6 separate regions of the Homo sapiens genome follow, and regions 1, 2, 3, 5 and 6 are each linked to region 4. The links are contacts of gene promoters, found by promoter capture Hi-C in blood cells and fetal thymus (Javierre and others, 2016). All regions are on one chromosome and are shown on one strand. The core of a region is centred on a gene start or on the middle of the fragment in contact, and the rest is flanking DNA. Distances in the headings are between cores, read along the strand shown.

Evidence for each region. The method cuts DNA at HindIII sites, captures the fragments that hold promoters and counts their contacts. A CHiCAGO score of 5 or more calls a contact.
Region 1: a fragment that was not itself captured here is called in contact with the fragment with the promoter of EMILIN2 in region 4 in 1 of 17 cell types (M0 macrophages); the score reaches 5.5 in M0 macrophages.
Region 2: a contact is called between a fragment that was not itself captured here and the fragment with the promoter of EMILIN2 in region 4, in 3 of 17 cell types (M0 macrophages, M1 macrophages and monocytes). The highest score is 6.2, in M0 macrophages.
Region 3: a fragment that was not itself captured here is called in contact with the fragment with the promoter of EMILIN2 in region 4 in 2 of 17 cell types (M0 macrophages and M2 macrophages); the score reaches 6.6 in M0 macrophages.
Region 5: a fragment that was not itself captured here is called in contact with the fragment with the promoter of EMILIN2 in region 4 in 1 of 17 cell types (M0 macrophages); the score reaches 5.4 in M0 macrophages.
Region 6: a fragment that was not itself captured here is called in contact with the fragment with the promoter of EMILIN2 in region 4 in 4 of 17 cell types (monocytes, M2 macrophages, M0 macrophages and 1 more); the score reaches 7.6 in monocytes.

Annotation. Positions count from the first base shown.
Region 1 is chr18:3,606,973-3,609,738 of GRCh38, forward strand. All of the region lies in intron 7 of DLGAP1 (DLG associated protein 1), which reads right to left. It overlaps DLGAP1-AS2 (DLGAP1 antisense RNA 2), which reads left to right. Exons shown (of 3, transcript NR_119377.1): 3 at 2,761-2,766. Among named protein-coding and RNA genes, the nearest start is that of DLGAP1-AS2, 4.6 kb to the left of the region's middle. The HindIII fragment of the contact is 5,854 bases long and covers 1-2,766 here.
Region 2 is chr18:3,452,083-3,454,994 of GRCh38, forward strand. All of the region lies in intron 1 of TGIF1 (TGFB induced factor homeobox 1), which reads left to right. Among named protein-coding and RNA genes, the nearest start is that of TGIF1, 3.4 kb to the left of the region's middle. RefSeq lists enhancers at 1-28, 29-650, 651-1,270. The HindIII fragment of the contact is 952 bases long and covers 775-1,726 here.
Region 3 is chr18:3,628,916-3,631,692 of GRCh38, forward strand. The region is part of intron 7 of DLGAP1 (DLG associated protein 1); the gene reads right to left. Among named protein-coding and RNA genes, the nearest start is that of DLGAP1-AS6, 23 kb to the right of the region's middle. The HindIII fragment of the contact is 716 bases long and covers 1,037-1,752 here.
Region 4 is chr18:2,845,505-2,848,471 of GRCh38, forward strand. It overlaps EMILIN2 (elastin microfibril interfacer 2), which reads left to right and starts at 1,502. Exons shown (of 8, transcript NM_032048.3): 1 at 1,502-1,818; 2 at 2,305-2,427. The coding sequence starts at 1,685. RefSeq lists silencers at 1,720-1,769, 2,390-2,479. The HindIII fragment of the contact is 11,570 bases long and covers 458-2,967 here.
Region 5 is chr18:3,468,545-3,471,295 of GRCh38, forward strand. The region is part of intron 2 of GAPLINC (gastric adenocarcinoma associated, positive CD44 regulator, long intergenic non-coding RNA); the gene reads left to right. All of the region lies in intron 2 of LOC105371965 (a long non-coding RNA gene), which reads right to left. Among named protein-coding and RNA genes, the nearest start is that of GAPLINC, 3.7 kb to the left of the region's middle. RefSeq lists an enhancer at 594-1,384. The HindIII fragment of the contact is 7,022 bases long and covers 1-2,751 here.
Region 6 is chr18:3,746,292-3,749,216 of GRCh38, forward strand. All of the region lies in intron 5 of DLGAP1 (DLG associated protein 1), which reads right to left. Among named protein-coding and RNA genes, the nearest start is that of DLGAP1-AS6, 95 kb to the left of the region's middle. The HindIII fragment of the contact is 1,380 bases long and covers 597-1,976 here.

The DNA of each region.
Region 1 (2,766 bases), core at 240-2,739, 760 kb after region 4:
GATTACAGGCACCTGCCACCACACCTGGCTAATTTTAGTAGAGAAGGGGTTTCGCCAAGCTGGCCAGGCTGGTCTCGAACTCCTGACTTCAGGTGATTGATCCACCTGCCTCGGCCTCCCAGAGTGCTGGGATTAGAGGCATGAGCCATCGCGCCTGGCCTAGATTATGGAATTTTTGTATTACCATGTATGTTGCCGTGTAATTTTTGTTTTGAACCTTTTTTATTTTTCTTTTAATTCCTTTGAGACAGGATCTTGTTCTGTTACCCAGGCTCACTGCAACAAGGTGATTTTCCCGCCTCAGCCTCCAGAGTAGCTGGACTACAGGCCGGTGCCACCACACCCAGATAATATTTTATATTTTTTGTAGAAATGGGGTTTTGTTTTGTTGCCCAGGCTGGTCTTGAGCTCCTGGGCTCAAGCGATCCACCCTCCTCAGCCTCCCAAAATACTGGGATTACAGGCATAAGCCACTGCACCCGGCCTTGAGCATTTGTTTTTTGAAGGAAATTTTATATGATTACCACATAAAAAAGGAATACTAAAAATCTAACATTATTTGATATCTCACTGTCTTTGAAAACTTAAGGAACATGGACCCATACAAGGCAGCCAAATATTGGCCGGTAACTCCTTTACAACTGGGCTGCAGCATATTTTATTACCTTCTCCTGACAATTTCTTATCTGGCTGCTTATCATTTCCAGAACATACCATCCTTTTGCATGCCTTTACGCCAGTGGCAAACATGGTTGTTTGCCTCCTCATAACCATTCTCTCTATCCTGCTTGCTAATGAGACCCCAGTACTGTTGATCTTTTCCACACAGCTGTGAGTTTTAGGGGTGGCTAAGCCCCTCCCTACACGTGGAGGCTGAATCTTCACCAGACTACCAGACAAAGAGATGAGAAGGGAGGTTGGATGGGAATGTTCTGGGAAAGTTTACCTCACTATTTAAAGCCACCCAAGTCAGGGACATCCTTTTTCTTCCTCTGGACTTTGTCATCTGCAAGGGATGCTGGAACTGTGGCTGCCATCGGGGGACCACAGAAAGTACTGGCCTAAGAAGACCAGCTCAGCTGGGCGTGGTGGCCTGTAATCCCAGCATTTTGGGAGGATGCGGGCAGATCATGTGAAGTCGGGAGTTCAAGACCAGCCTGACCAACATGGAGAAGCCCTGTCTCTACTAAAAATACAAAATTAGCCGGGTGTGGTGGCGCATGCCTGTAATTCTAGCTACTGGGGAGGCTGAGGCAGGAGAATTGCCTGAATCCGAGAGGTGGAGGTTACAGTGAGCGGAGAGGGCGCCACTGCACTCCCGTCTGGGCCAATGAGAGTGAAACTCCATCTCAAAAAAAAAAAAAGATGAGCTCACACTGGGGATGACGGGTGGAAGAAAGGCCAGCTGTAATGAACTTGCTGGTTTTGGTAAATTCATTGCCTTACCCTTGGACCTGGTATTGTTTGAGAAAATAAATTATTTTGCCATCTTAGTCACTTTGATTTTATTTTTTAAGTTGTATTTGTTTGCTTATTGATTTGATTGGCTTGGCACTTATGCAGTGACTTTGTAGATGCTGTCTATGTGTTGGGGCTCAGAACATAATGCCCTAAAATATGGTGACTTGGCAATTGAGAAAACTGAAGGAGCAAGAAGGTCACTCACTGTGAGAGCTGGCCACGAGGGAATGCTCTGACCTATCTTTGTCTGAAAGTAGGTCATAAGATGCTCATTCCAGAGAGGTCTCGCTCTATACCCAGAGGCGAAGAAGGAACAGACAGCTCTTGCCCTACTGTCCCCCAGTTGTTTGTTACCGTTAGATAATAAATTTATTCTAGTTGAAATCTGAAATACTCCAAAGTCTGAAACTTTTCATTTTTTTGAGACAGAGTCTTGCTCTGTCACCCAGGCTGGAGTGTAGTGCACGATCTCAGCTCACTGCAACCTCCACCTCCCAGGTTCAATGATCCTCCTGCCTCAGCCTCCCAAGTAGCTGGGATTACAGGCATGTGCCACCACGCCTGGCTAATTTTTATACTTTTAGTAGAGACAGGGTTTCACCATGTTGGCCATGTTGGTCTCAAACTCCTGAACTCAAGTGAGCCTCGGCCTCCCAAAGTGCTGGGATTACAGGCGTGAGCTGCTGCACCCAGCCTGATCTGTAATACTCTCCCTTGCAGTGTCCTCAGCCTCCCAAGTAGCTGGGACTGCAGGTGTGCACCACCACAACCAGCCAATTTTTAAACATTTTTTTGTAGAGATATGGTCTCACTATGTTGCCCAGGCTAGTCTCAAATTCCTGGGCTCAAGTGATCCTCCCACCTTGGCCTCCCAAAGTACTGGGATTTGAGGTGTGATCCACCTCACCCGGGCCTGAGTCTTCCTTTGGAAGGCTGCTGTATCATGTGAAACTTATGTTAAATAAATTTGCTTATTTTTCTGTTACTAATCTGTCTTCTGTGATAGGAGTCTTAGCCATGAACCTAGCGATGGGTGTGGAATAGATATTTCTTCCACACGCTAGAAAAGGCTGTGTCTGCCTGGTGCAAATCCTGACCTGCCAGTTACAAGCTACTTAACTTTACACTATTAAATCATCTTTTCCTGAGTTTCCTCATCTGTTGAGTTAGGATAACAGCACCTATCTCATAGTGTGATGCGGTGAGCGAAGAGGTGAATGTAGGGAAAGGGGATAGAGTGTTCCACTTACCCTGTGACATATAGGAATTAGGTGCTCTTCTTTTTTCTTTCCTTCCTAGATTATG
Region 2 (2,912 bases), core at 1-2,500, 610 kb after region 4:
CCGGGAATCCCCAGTGCTCCTTTTCCACGGCTTTTCTGGCGTCCCCCCGACTCTCCCGCGGCACTTTGGCCTACCTTCCCCCAGCGCCGTGGTCCTCCCTGGCGACCCCCTCTGCGCTCCTGGGGTCCTCCTGCGCCCCCCCTCCTCCACCGGCGCGCTGCCCACAGCCGCGTGCCCTCTCCCCGGAGCTGGGGACCAAGGCTGGGCCCCGCCGGCCGCATCGGTGGGAACTTCCGCGGTCCCCATCCCAGGGCGCACAGGGTCCAGCTCCTCGGCGCCGACTCCTGGAAACAATGAAAGGTGACGGGCTGAAGGGGAAACTTTGCGACTGGTTCAGGGCTCTTTGGGGGAGCCGAGGCTGCCGAGGTTACCCGGGTTTCTTTCCCCTTTTAGGTTTCCCTGGCGAGTCGTCTGGGGTGGGCAGGCCTCTGAGAAGGTGGGATTCACGGCCTCATTTCTAGTTTCTTGGGTCCTGGAGTTCCTTTGCTTGTGCTAACTCGTGCAGTGTGCGGGCCGGCCTGTTTCACTTGAGGCCGAGGAACTCTCAAGAACAAAAGCTACTTGCTTTTCCTCCTTGGGCCCCTCCCTCTCCCCGTGCTCCTCCGCCGTCCTCCTCTAAAACTACCTGGGAGGGGGGAGCCTTCCCCGTCGGCTCTGGAAAGACTCCTGAGGAAGTCGGGCCCTCCTTACTGTCTTGTCTTATAAAAGTCTGCAAATCTTTTCAAGTTTTCTTAAAACAAGTGCACTTTCAGCTCCATTCCTGAGCCCGGGGTAAGCTTGGTTTGTGATAATAGTGTGTCCTCCCAGAAAGCTGAGAGTGACGCCAAAAGATCTCCTAAAATGACTTAAAAACAATGAGAAGGATCGATAAGGAAAATCCACTAAGTCTTTTTGCTCCCAGTTTTTAACTGTTGAATTCCTGCTTTGGGATTGCTCTTTGGCTGGGGTAGCCAACCATACCTTGGATTTGGTGGCTTGAGTGTTCAATGCCTGTTGCTTCTCCCAAGGAGATACTGATTTTTTTTTTCTTTTGTTCCTGGAGACCGGGTCTGGCTATGTTGCCCAGGCTGGTCTCGAACTCCTGGGCTCAAGAAATCCTCTCGCCTTGGCCTCCCAAAGTTCTGGGATTACAGGCAAGAGACATTGCTCCCAGCTCAAAGGAGAACTTCTGGTCAGGAAACTTGTTGAGTTAAATTTGCTTTTTCCTAATTGTGCATCTCGACTTTTCCCATCAATCTTATTTCTAGAGTCTCTTCACAACCGGTGTCTCCCTGCCTCCCTGTCTCATGATGTTACCGAGCTATTCAGAAAAGAAAGTGCAGGGCTGGGCGCGGTGGTTCACGCCTGTAATCCCAGCACTTTGGGAGGCCTAGGCGAGCAGATCATCTGAGGTCGGGAGTTCGAGACCAGCCTGACCAACATGGAGAAACCCCGTCTCTCCTAAAAACACAAAATTAGCCGGGCGTGGTGGCTTTTGCCTGTAATCCCAGCTATTCGGGAGGCTGAGGCAAGAGAATCGCTTGAACCCTGGAGGCGGAGGCTGCGGTGAGCCGAGGTTGCGGCATTGCACTCCAGCCTGGGTGACAAGAGCGAAACTCTGTCTCAAAAAAAAAAAAAAAAAAAAAAGAACGTGCAGGAACAAGGTCGCTGCTTAGGGCGGTGGGATCCTCAGGCCATGTTGTGGCTTTCTCCACAACATTTCCTTGTATGTGGATAGCGTGAAAGAAGCTTGTGATCCTGCCCCCACCCTCCCCACCGCCACATTTTTTAAAGTGTAAGCAAAGCAAGACGTTTGGAAACAAGTCTTAACCGGGAAACTTTTCAAAAGCGCTGTTACAATAGGAAATGAGTAAGGAGGAAAAAAGTCTTTGTTTTTCCAAGCTGAGCCACAACTAGGAGGGAGAGTTTTAATGAAAACAGTCCTGACAGCAGCAAACGTGGTTTTACTGCAGTGAAATATCAGCTGGCGTAGCCAAGGCACTGAAGTCTTAACTTCCTGTTACTTCAGCTTTTGTGCACATATTGGAAATATTTGTTAAGAGTTCCAGAGGTCTGGCATTCATTTATTTAAATGAACTGAGAACAGAGTAAAGTCGCGCTGCAGTTTGGTGTTGCTTAACTGAAACCTGCTTTTGTGTGTCACTAACCTATTCTGAAAGATCAGGCTTCTTGTCAAACTAGGCAAGCAGATCAAAGGGCAGCCTTCAGGGGCTTTTTTTGTTTCAAACTCTTTGTGATTACCAACTTACAGTTGGGAATTCACTGTTCAATGAGCAAATTTTCACACTTTTTCTAGATTAAAAAAAGGAAGGAGATAATAGCCTTGAGAAGAATGTCTGGCTTTTCAGACGTTGGAGAGTTTAAACAAATTGCTTTATTCAAATTTGCTTTAGTCATTTAATTAACTTAACACTTTTTTTAAAAGTTCGATTTCTTTAATTATTAAAGCCAATGTGAGACAGGAACTCAGCTATAATTTCTTTAAGCTATTTTATTAATAGTTCTTCACCCAAATTTCAATATAGGTTTTGAAAGTCTCATCTTGCCAATAGTGAAAGTAGTTTCAGTTTTAAATGGGCACTTTTAAAAACCTTTTTAAAAACTTAAATCATCAGGGGAGGGGAATTTCAAATACATGGCAGTTAAAACTTAGGATTCTTGTGCAGTTTATTTGTAGCTGTTTGTTAAGCTGTGAGCTAAAGTGAATTTGCAAGATCATCCACCTCTTTGTTAGAACTTTACTTTGTCTTTGGAGAGTTCTGCCTTTTGTAGGAATACCCTGCAGCACCTTCTGCCCCCTGCAGTCCAAAACTAAAAATGTGTCACCAAGTCAGAGTCATTAAAAGGGTGGGAAAAATTCCTTTAAAAAACACGGTGTTTAGCTTAAGAGGAATATTCCGTGTTTATTTCCT
Region 3 (2,777 bases), core at 145-2,644, 780 kb after region 4:
GTATTTGAACAATGCCACCATGAATATTCCTGTCCTGTATTTGGCACACAAGTAAAAGACTTTTCTAGAAAATGTTCGGGTTGTTTGCTATGAGTTTCTTCATAATGTCAAATAATATTTTTAAAAATGTGGATATTGTCCCAACATACACTCCCATAACAGTGCATGAGAATTCCTATTGCTGCTGCATATCTTTGCCAACATTTGATATTGTTACACTTTATAATTTTTTGTGGCCAGGCACAGTGGCTCACACCTACAATCCCAGCACTTTGGGAGGCCAAGACAGGAGTTTGAGACTAGCCTGGGTAACACAGCAAGACGCCATCTCTAAAAAAATAAATAGCTGAGGTGGGAGGATCACTTGAACCTGGGAGGTTGAGGCTGCAATGAGCCATGATTGTGGCACTGCACTCCAGCTTGAGTGACAAAGTGAGGCTCTGTCTACAAACAAATAAATAAAAATAAAAAATAGGCTGGGCGCGGTGGCTCAACCCTGTAATCCCAGCACTTTGGGAGGCTGAGGCGGGCGGATCACGAGGTCAGGAGATCGAGACCATCCTGGCTAACACGCTGAAACCCTGTCTCTACTAAAAATACAAAAAAATTAGCCGGGCGTGTTGGTGGGCGCCTGTAGTCCCAGCTACTCGGGAGGCTGAGGCAGGAGAATGGCGTGAACCCGGGAGGCGGAGCTTGCAGTGAGCCGAGATCGCGCCACCGCACTCCAGCCTGGGCAACAGAGTGAGACTCTGTCTCAAAAAATAAATAAATAAATAAATAAAAATAAATAAAAAATAATGAAATAATTTTTTGCTAACCTGGTAGGTGTGTATTGGTATCTCACTGTGGATTTAATTTACTTATTTTGGATTCCTAATGAGATGAGCACTTTTTGCAGGTTTTGATATTTCGATGTCCCTTTCTTGTGAAGGGCAAAGTTTGAACACAATAGGCAAATGTAGCAATCTTTTTAAAAATTTTCATGCTCTTCATATTTTATTTCAGAAACTTCCCCTACCCCCATATCATTTTGGGAAGCTTTATTGTTTGGCCTTTCACATTTAGGTCTTAAATTCAACTAGAATTGCTTAGGAGGGCTGGAGTATAAAGTTGTAATGGTTAATTTTATGTGTCAACTTGACTGGGCCATGTGGTACCCAGACATTTGGCCAAATATTATTCTGTGTGTGTCTGTGATGGTGCTTCCAAGTGAGAGTATTACATTGGAATCAGTAGACTGAGTACAGCAGATTGCTCTCCCCAGTGTGGTTGGGCCTCATTCAATCAATTGAAGACCGGAATAGAATAAAAAGACTGAATATGAGAGAATTTCTCCTGTCCGACTGGTTAAGTTGGGGCATCGGTTTTTTCCAGCCTTCAGACTTGGCCTGAAACATTGGTCCTCCTTGGGTTGTGAGCCTGCAGGTCCTCAGACTGAAACTATCCATCAGCTCTCCTGGTTCTCAGGCTCCTGGATTCAAGCTGGAAGTACACATCAGGTCTCCTGGGTCCTCAGCTTGATGACTCGAGATCTTGGGAATTCTCGGCCTCTATAACTGTGTGCCCCAATTCCCTATAATAAATCTTTGTCTTTCTCTCTCTCCTGTTGTCTCTGTGTCTCTGAAGAACCCTGGCTAATACAAAGGTATAGTCCAATTTTATTTTATTTTTTTTCCAAATAAATACTCCTCAGTGACAGCACCATCTACTGAATATTGTCCCTTCCCCACTGAATTGCAAAGATGCCTCTCAAGCTTCCATATGAGCACGGGACTATTTCTGTAATCTGTAGTCTGTTCTGTTGGGCTACTGCCCTGTCCTTGTGCTAACACCATGTCTTATTACTATAGGCTAATTATGAATCTTGATGCTCAATAGGGCAAATCCTCTAATTTTGCTGCTTTTCAAGAGTATCTTGGCTGTATGTGGCACTTTGCAAAAACTAAAACACAACAACAACAACAAAATTCAGGTTTTTGGTTGATATTGCATTAAATTTATAGATCAGTTTTAAGTGAATTGACACCTTTCTAATTTGCAGTTTTGAATCTTTTTATTTATTTTTTATTTTTATTTTTTTTATGAGACTGAGTCTCCTTCTGTCGCCCAGGCTGGGGTGCAGTGGTGCAATTTCGGCTCATTGCATCCTCTGCCTGCTGGGTTCAAGCAATTCTCCTGTCTCAGCCTCCCAAGTAGCTGGGACTACAGGCATGTGCCAGCACGCCCAGTTAATTTTTTTTTTTTTTTAAGTAGAGATGGGGTTTCACCATGTTGGTCAGGCTAGCCTTGAACTCCTGACCTCAGGTGATCTGCCCACCTTGGCCTTCCAAAGTGCTGGCATTACAGGTGTGAGCCACCGTGCCTGGCTGACTCTTTTTATATGACTTTAGGAGTTAGTCTAGAAATTCTAATCCACATATTTAACTTACTAATATCTAGACTTAATACCCTTAACCTTTTCTTAGAAAATACAAGGTACTTAAAACACTTTAACTCCTGACTTCTACTGGGTTATATGTATTTTTAATTCTGTCTTTTAAAAAATATTCTGGACAGTTGTGGTGGCTCATGTCTGTAATCTTTGCACTTTGGGAAGCTGAGGCAGGAGGATCACTTGAGCTCCGAGTTCAAGACCAGCCTGGGCAACATAGTGAGACCTTGACTCTACAAATAGTAAAAATATTAGCTAGGCATGGTGGCGTGTGCCTATAGTCCCAGCTACTCGAGAGGCTGAGGCAGGAGAATTGCTTGAGCCTGAGAGGTAGAAACTGCAGTAA
Region 4 (2,967 bases), core at 252-2,751:
TTGGCCCTTGTAGTTTCTACTTAGGGACTTCTCTTTCTTTCATCTGCAAATCAAAAGGTCCAACAACACCATCAAAGAATATTAGAAACAAAATAGACCAATGGCTTCATTTAGTAAAGTAGGAACATAGCAAACGTTTTTATTTTTTATTTTTTGCGACAGATTTTCACTCTTTTTGCCCAGGCTGGAGTGCAGTGGTGAGATCCCGGCTCACTGCAACCTCCATCTCTCTGGTTCAAGCGATTCTCCTGCCTCAGCCTCCCAAGTAGCTGGGATTACAGGCATGTGCCACCGTGCCCGGCAAATTTTTTTTTTTTTTTTGTACTTTTAGTAGAGACGGGGTTTCTCCATGTTGGTCAGGCTGGTCTTGAACTCCCGACGTCAGGTGATCCACCCGCCTCGACCTCCCAAAGTGCTGGGATTACAGGCGTGAGCCACCCCGCCTGGCCCATAGCAAAGCTTTATTCACTTAACGAGTCATGGCCAACAGCGTCTGGTTAGCTCACAGAGGCCACAGTTTTATCTGTGGAGTCTGGTAACCACGCCACTCACGACCCTGTACATTGATTAGATGCAGCAGGTCATCTCAAACACACAGCTCTCTCCAACACCCCTTAGAATACAACACTTGGGTGGTGATTTTACTTAACATTCTGGTACTTCATCCCAAAAAGACATCGGTAGAGATTAGTGTAACTCAACAACAGGCAGAAAACATACAAGAAAGTTTAAGACGGATGTCTAGCAGTGCCTGAACTGTTAAGAAGCAAACGTGAGTAAATGCCTTAGTTTCAATAGAAAAAGAAAGTTCACAGTGGGACCTCAGAAGCAGAGGCTGTGAGATCACCTTTCAAGAATTGGAGGAGAATTGCAGTAAGTGATAGAGCCGGACGCTGAGCTGCAGCAGCCTCTGGGAATTGGCGGGGCTGTGGCTTGTCCTGTCCTGCCGCCCCCCGCGTGGCCTCGGAAACTGTCAGATGGTGCCTAAGGCAGAGTTGGGCAAAGAAAGAACCAGCGTTCGTTTCCTCCTGGACTCTCTAGGTCCATGGAGCTGGTGGGGGAACGGCCCTGTCTTGCCCGAGGAGGAAATTCGAGTCGAGCCCCCACTCCTCTCCCCGCGGGACTGATAAACATGTCCCTCATTCGCCCCGGGAGGCTGGCACCCAGGCACGACGCGAGGACGGCCAGACTCGCCGACGGCGGCCGCGTCCCGGGGGGCCGGGAGCGAGCCTGTCGGAAGGTGGGAGGCGGAGTCGCTCGGCATCTGGGAAGAGACCAAAGGAATGAGTCATTGGAAATGCTGTAACGTAGACCCTTATCCCAAACCCTTTCGCCCCTCCACCCCGAGCCCCCTGCCGAGAAGCGAAGGGACTGGAGACGGGGAGACTTGGTGGGGGGAGAGTCACGTTTCGGAGAGGGAAGTGAAATAAAGAGGGCGGCACCCGGGGGGACCTGTGCGTCATTGAGGGACCGGGGAGAAGCGCAGGGCGCACGGGGCTGCAGAAGGAGAAGTAGGAACGAGAAGCCGGAGGGGGCGGCCGCGGAGCACTGGTTGGAGCGCCGCGAAGCGCCCGAGCCTCTTGCCTTCGCGGGCGGCGCCCTGGCCGCCGGCAGCCTTGTGGCCGGTGCCCCGATCCGCCGCGCTCCGGACCCGGGCAGGCGGGGCGCGCCCGCTGCGCGCGGGATGTGGCAGCCCAGACGGCCCTGGCCCCGCGTGCCCTGGCGCTGGGCGCTGGCGCTGCTGGCCCTGGTTGGCGCGGGGCTGTGCCACGCCGGCCCGCAGCCCGGGTATCCCGCGCGGCCCAGCGCCAGGAACAAGTAAGTGCGCGCCCCTTGGCTGGCCCCAAACCGCCTACCCCTCCCCGGCCCCCAGTTGAGCCCCAGAGCTGCCCTGCCAAAGACGACGAGCGGCAGCCGGGGGCCTCCCTTGGACTTCCCCGGGCGGCTCCCTCTGCGGGGGACCGCGCGCTCCGCAGCCGGCGCCTCAGGCAGAGCTGACTCCGGGGGCGTGGGCGCAGAGAGCGTCCCGCAGACCCGGGCGATCCGAAAACGACTCCCAGGAATTCCATGAGCCCCTGGGACCATGGGTGCTTTTCTTTCCCGTCTTGGTCGGGTCCAGGCGCGCGCTCTCCAGAGGCGCACCCGGGCACCCTCCGGCGTCTGCTCGGTGAAGCTCCCGCCTCCGCAGAGGGCGACGGGCCCCCCCGACCCTCGCTCGGTCTGGTGCCGCAGTCCCCTCTCCCCTGGCCTCATTGTTCTCCGGGTTTACCCCGTGCCCCTCTCCCTCTCTCTCCTGCACCCCAGGAACTGGTGCGCCTACATCGTGAACAAGAATGTGAGCTGCTCCGTGCTGGAGGGAAGTGAGAGTTTTATTCAGGCTCAGTACAACTGTGCCTGGAACCAGATGCCCTGTCCGTCGGCGCTGGTGTAAGTCCTGGAGCCGGGGAGCGGGCGGGGCGCGCCCGGGCCGGGGCGGTGGGGGTGGGGTGGGGTTGCTGCGCTGGGCTCCAGTCCCTCCGGTAAATCCCTTCCAGATCCGGTGAAAAGCCCGCAGCGGAAAAGCGCTCCGAGCGCTCGCGGGGCACCGGCCACGCTGGGCTATTTAGGGAGTGGGTGCTGCCCGAGTGAGTGGGGAGGATGCGCGCGCCTCGGGAGTGTGGGGTCGCGGGGGCGTAGGAGAGGATGAACAAAGCTCCCACTCCCACTTCTGTTTTCTCCCTTTCAATGTTTGTTTGTAACATAAGGCAGCTGAATCTAATTGGATCCATATTGTGTGTTCTGGGGCACACAGAAGATTCCAAAATGTATACTGCTAAAGACTATTCCGTATAGGATTCGCTGAGAGGTTTGGCTAAGTAGTGTTCTAAAACGAGTGAGTTCTGTCCGTATGTCCCCATAAAACGGAATCTTCCAGTTTTGTAGATGTCTAAGCTAAAACCTCAGGAACACTTTGCTTAAAAGTGTGGC
Region 5 (2,751 bases), core at 64-2,563, 620 kb after region 4:
TGCAGCGAGCTGAATTTGTGCCATGGCACTCCAGCCTGCACAACAGTGAGACTTTGTCTCAAAAAAAAAACACTAAGGAAACAGGGGAAAGAGAATTGAACTTCTGTAGCTGCTCAAGTCATTTGGCATCTCTAAATCTGGGCTTCTTCATCTCTCGTTATATAAAAAAACAGATACCTAAATTTCAAGGTTGTTGAGGATTAAATGAGGTAACAATGTAGAACCTCTTTAGAGTTTTAGAGCAAAGCTGATTGACCTACAAATCCATGTTATTGTTGGATCTTAGATGAGCAAATCTACCTGGCTCAGGTTCTGACTCCGGTTTCCACTTGCCGCCTGGGAGGTGACTGTCCCCAAGTCCGCCTCTGAGGTGGTCCTGCTGGGTCCTGGCCTCGCCTATTTCCCACACCTCTCGTCTGCCTTTCTCCAGTTTCTTACAACAGCAGCAGTAAAGTTCCCTTCCCCCGATCCTTAATGCTGTCTTTACTTCTCTCCTATGATGTTATACAAGGAAGTAGTGTGAGGGCTTCAGGCGGGGGCTGTAGGCTGGAGATAGTGGTGGCTGTTGTAGTGCTGATGAGGTCATCATCATCCCTGAAACCAAGCTGCGTGATTTTTTTTTTTACCACTGGCATCATTCCTATAATGCAGAAAACAACACCAGGTCTTTTTTTTTTTTTTTTTTTTTTGAGACCGAGTCTCTCCCTGTCACCCAGGCTGGAGTGCAATGGCGCAATCTCGGCTCACTGCAACCTCCACCTCCTGGGTTCAAGTGATTCTCCTGCCTCAGCCTCCCGAGTAGCTGGGATTACAGGCGTGTGCCACCACGCCCAGCTAATGTTTTGTATCTTTAGTAGAGACGGGGTTTCACCATGTTGGCCAGGCTGGTCTCAAACTCCTGACCTTGTGATCCACCCGCCTCGGCCTCCCAAAGTGCTGGGATTACAGGCGTGAGCCACCGCACCTGGCCCAACACCGGTTCTTTATTACTAAAGGGCTAACCACTCAGAGCCTCCAATTTGCTTTCTCCTTCTCCCTCTGGGCTCACGTAAGTAGAACACTCTGAAGAAGCCTCAATCTGCTTTTTGTGATTTCGATATGCAGTAACCCAAGCTGCCCCCGATACAGAAGGAAGAGAACTGAGCTTAGCTCCAGAAGACCTAACTATGACACTAGGCCAGCATAATACTAGCTGGGTGGCTAGGAGTAAACTAACTTCTTTGAGCTAGTTTTCTTGTCAGTAAAGCATAGAGTTGGATTAGATGATATCTTTAGCCTCTGAAATCTCTAACTTTCTAAGGACATAAATAATACATATAGATCTAGTAACAGTGTAGGCTATTTGAAATCAGTGAAAGTTCCATAAGATACCTCTCATCCTAAGCCTAGGTGAAAGGTTTGCCATAGAAGAAAATGCAAATAAAAAGTTCAGTAGAGGGCATCTCAGAATGATGAAATGATTGGTTTCTTTGGGCAAAACCATCAATAGGGTGATTTGAAACTTTCGGGATGACATTTCTGTCCAGAGAAAAGGACAGTCAGCCAGGCACGGTGGCTTGGCTCATGCCTGCAATCCCAGTACTTTGGGAGGCCAAGACCGATGGATCACTTGATGCTAGGAGTTTGAGACCAGCCTTGCCAACATGATGAAACCCCATCTCTACTAAACATACAAAAATTAGCCAAGCATGGTGGCCTATGCCTGGTGGCCTATGCTTGTAATACCAGCTATTCGGGAGGCCGAGGCAGAAGAATCGCTTGAACCTGGGAGGTAGAGGTTACAGTAAGCTGAGATCGCACCACTGCACTCCAGCCTGGGAGACAGAGTGAGACTCCATCCCAAAAAAAGAAAAAGAAAATAACAGTCTGGTCTAAGGGTTTGTTTTAGTCGAAGTAATAGGAATTGATGTGAAGAGGAAGCATCCCCTGATGCCAGGGCAGATGGTGGAGAGCAGAACACCAGGGTGGTACAGGGCAGAAGAGGGAGGGTGAACAGAAAGGGGTGGAGGAGACAGAGGCAGGAAGAGAGGGGGCATCATGGCCTGGTGGGTGGAGCCAGGCCAGCCCTGCTAAGACCAAGGGTGATGTTCTTCATCGGAAGAAGAAGGTGAGAAGACCTCAGGGAGCCTCAAGGACCTCCAAGGATGGAAAACCTGGCATTGATTAGGAAAATGACTGTGATTGTATCAATGTACACTTAGTTGAGAAGTCAAGGAGCATTTGGAAACTGAGAGAAAAGAGCCTTGTTACTTCAAGGAATAAAAATGTGTAACGTGCAGTCAGGACATAGTGCTTTTAAAACTGAGCTGTCCTTTCAGAGCAGCTGGGCAAGTGTTGGCTTTAATATTAAGCACATTTGGCCAGGCACAGTGGCTCACATCTGTAATCCCAGCACTTTGGGAAGCAGAGGTGGGCAGATCACTTGAGGCCAGGAGTTCGAGACCAGCCTGACCAACATGGTGAAAGCCCGTCTCTACTAAAAATACAAAAATTAGCTGTATGTCGTGATGCGTGCCTGTAATCCCAGCTACTTGGGAGGCTGAGGCAGGATAATCGCTTGAACCCGGGAGGCGGAGGTTGCAATGAGCTGAGATTGTGCCACTGCATTCCAGCCTAGGCAACAGAGCAAGATTCTGTCTCAAAAAATAAAAATAAAAAAATAAAAATTAAGCACATAGGGTAAGTCTTATTTGAGAGAGAGCTGCAGCTATGCAAGGCAGAATACTTTGAGTTCAGGACTGCCTTAGGCAA
Region 6 (2,925 bases), core at 37-2,536, 900 kb after region 4:
ATACTTAAACAATTTAAAGAGAAATTTATCAATGTTTTATGAATAAAAAAACCTATAAAGCCTTATGGAAGGCAATAAAGAAGGCCTAAAGAAATGCAAAGGAATATGGTAGAGAAAGACTTTAGAAGCATCGTGGTAAACTTAGATGCCATAAAGAGAAAGGTTAATGAATGGAAGTACATGAAAATTTAAAACTTTTGTTCAGCCAAAGATCCTGTCAACAATGTTAAGAAAAATAGTCATTGTGTATAAGAACATATTTGCAACACTAAGCAGCAAAAAGGGTTCACATGCATAATATTTAAATTATGAATAAAAATAATGAAACCAACACAATAAAAAATGGTCAAAGCCTATAAAGAGGGAATCATAAGAAAATAAATATATAAATTCACAGGAAAGTAACTTTATATATCACCAAGCATATGACAAAATGCTCGATCTCACTAGTAATTAGAGAAATGTGGATTTTAAAAAACATACATTTACACATTACATTCATGTACATCCATCTTGATGTCCTCAAATTGTAAAGATATTCCCTATATTCTAAGTGTCCTCTTAGTAGCATTGTGTACGATTGCATCTATTCTTAAAGCTTGTATGGAATTACTTAATATATAACAGCCAAAAACTATTCTTAATAATACTAAACCCTGAGAATGTGATAAGCAACCACTTTTTGCAGCTGCACTGAGGGAGAAACCAAATTAAGACAGATCTAGAATATAACATCGAAAGTAAATCTCTTATTGCATTTTACTGTTACAAAAGATAAACTAGGCTGGGTGCAGTGTGGCTCACACCTGTAATCCTAGCACTTTGGGAGGTCTACGTGGAAGGAACTCTTGAGCCCAGACCAGCCTGGGCTACATAGTGAGGCCCTGTCTGTATTTTTTAATATAAAAAAGTAAAAGAAAAAAATTGTTCTAGAAATGTGCCCTATGGATCCTTCAAGTAGTGGTCAAACATGAAAATAGTTTGCCAGGTCAAGGTAATATTTTCCATGTGTTACGTGCTATTATGGTGATTCCAGCTGCATCGCTTTATAATACCAATGCCAAAAATTTCAACCAACAAACAAACTGAAAAATTCGTTTTCCTTTTAAGATCTTTTTTAGAAAAAGAGAATCGTAGCTGGAAGCATTTATAACCTAAAGTTCACTTCTCTTTAGAACTTGCGCATTAGATGACAAATGTGTTTCTTTGACTATTTTGCAACCTGACCCAGAGCAATGATATTGCCAACATAAATGATGATGCCATTCCAAATGTTATCAGGGCAGTGACGGGAGTGGCTGTTTCATAAATGGTGTATATTCAAAGAAGAAGTGAAAGTCCGGCGTTTTGAAAAATGAGCGTCTGCTGGCTGAATGGGGAAATGAGGCATCATTGCAACAATCATTCACTCTGGCCACTCGTTATGAAATAAGGCACAATTCCCAAATTTCAAAGTGAAACATCATTCAGAAGGAATTGAATAGTTCTTCTCTGGTGAGTCATTCCTGATAAAACAATGCATACATTAATAACACACAAAATATAAGGAAATGAACTGTTTTATCTTGCCCACTTATAGAACAGAGCCCTCCGCTATCAATATAAAGGTTACTATATGCCCATGTGCTCCGGATGCAGAAACGCTCATTAAATAAACACCAAAATAGTGCATCGATGACTTTGTCTTTACCTCAAAAGAAAGTTGATCTGCTCAGAAGAAAGACAGTGTGCATATTCAGAAACATTAACTCTCTCATGTTACGTTAATTATTTCCAATGTTGGTCTAACGAAATGGCACTCTTCTTTTTCCATCCTTCTCCCTAAATTACTTATGCTAAGTTAACTTTTCCTAGCTTATCAGAACTAAAGGGAGATTTTGATTTTTTGGGCTGGGAGGTCCCATTCATTATCATGACTTTAAAGTACAACCAATAATGGGAAGTTCTTAGGTGACAGTGAGCCAACCACACAAACAAGCTTGACCCTTTGTATCCGGAAGGCTGCCATTGCGAAGAAGAGCGTGTACAGTAATCATCAGACCACAAAGTTTTAAACCAGTGTCTCAAAAGACAAAATGACTAACTTTGCAACATATTACTGGAAATAACTTCAGATGGCTGGGATGCTTTTTCCCCCAAAGAAGGAAATGCTTCCAGGTTATGGAGTCTAATGGGAGAATCTTTGGAGGTGATGGACCATCTTATGGAGCCATCTGCACCCTAAGTTTTGTTCATTTTCACGTTGTCTTCTCTCTGACTTACAAAAGTATTGGAATGTAAGGCTCTTCCATGGGACCCAGAGGAAACATTTTATGGCCTCAGGAGGTTAATCTAACTTCATTGTATTTCAAAAATGAACGTATTTGGCCTTGGTCATGACACTTTTATCAAATCATACTCATAAACATTAATGGCTTAAACTGAGAGGCTTTGATCCCTTGGGCTTTGGTGTGGACAATGGTACTTAGTAGGTGACAGTTCTCTGTTGAACTAGTTTCAGGGAATCAAACACAGGGCATTTTAGTAGTCAATCTGCTTTGGTAAAACGAAGCCTTTCTTTTCAGTAACCTTACCTATAATGGCTTTATAATCCGTATAGAAATGTAACTTTCATTAAAGTTGTTTACTTTTGTAGTTGCCTCTTGAGTTATTTCTACTTTATAATAATACCTGACATTTGTTACCATTTATCCAATGCCTGGCTACTGTTAGATAAAGAAATCATGACTTTGAGAGATCACATAGTGTTGAAGGTAATTCCAATGGAAACTTGGCCTTTTAACTTCCACATTCCTATTCTGTCTTCTCCTTCTCCTTCTCCTCCTCCTCCTCTTCCTCCTCCTCCTTCTTCTTCTTCTTTTTTTTTTTTTTTTTTTTTGACAGAGTCTCACTCTGTTGCCCAGGCTGGAGTGCAGTGGTGCAATC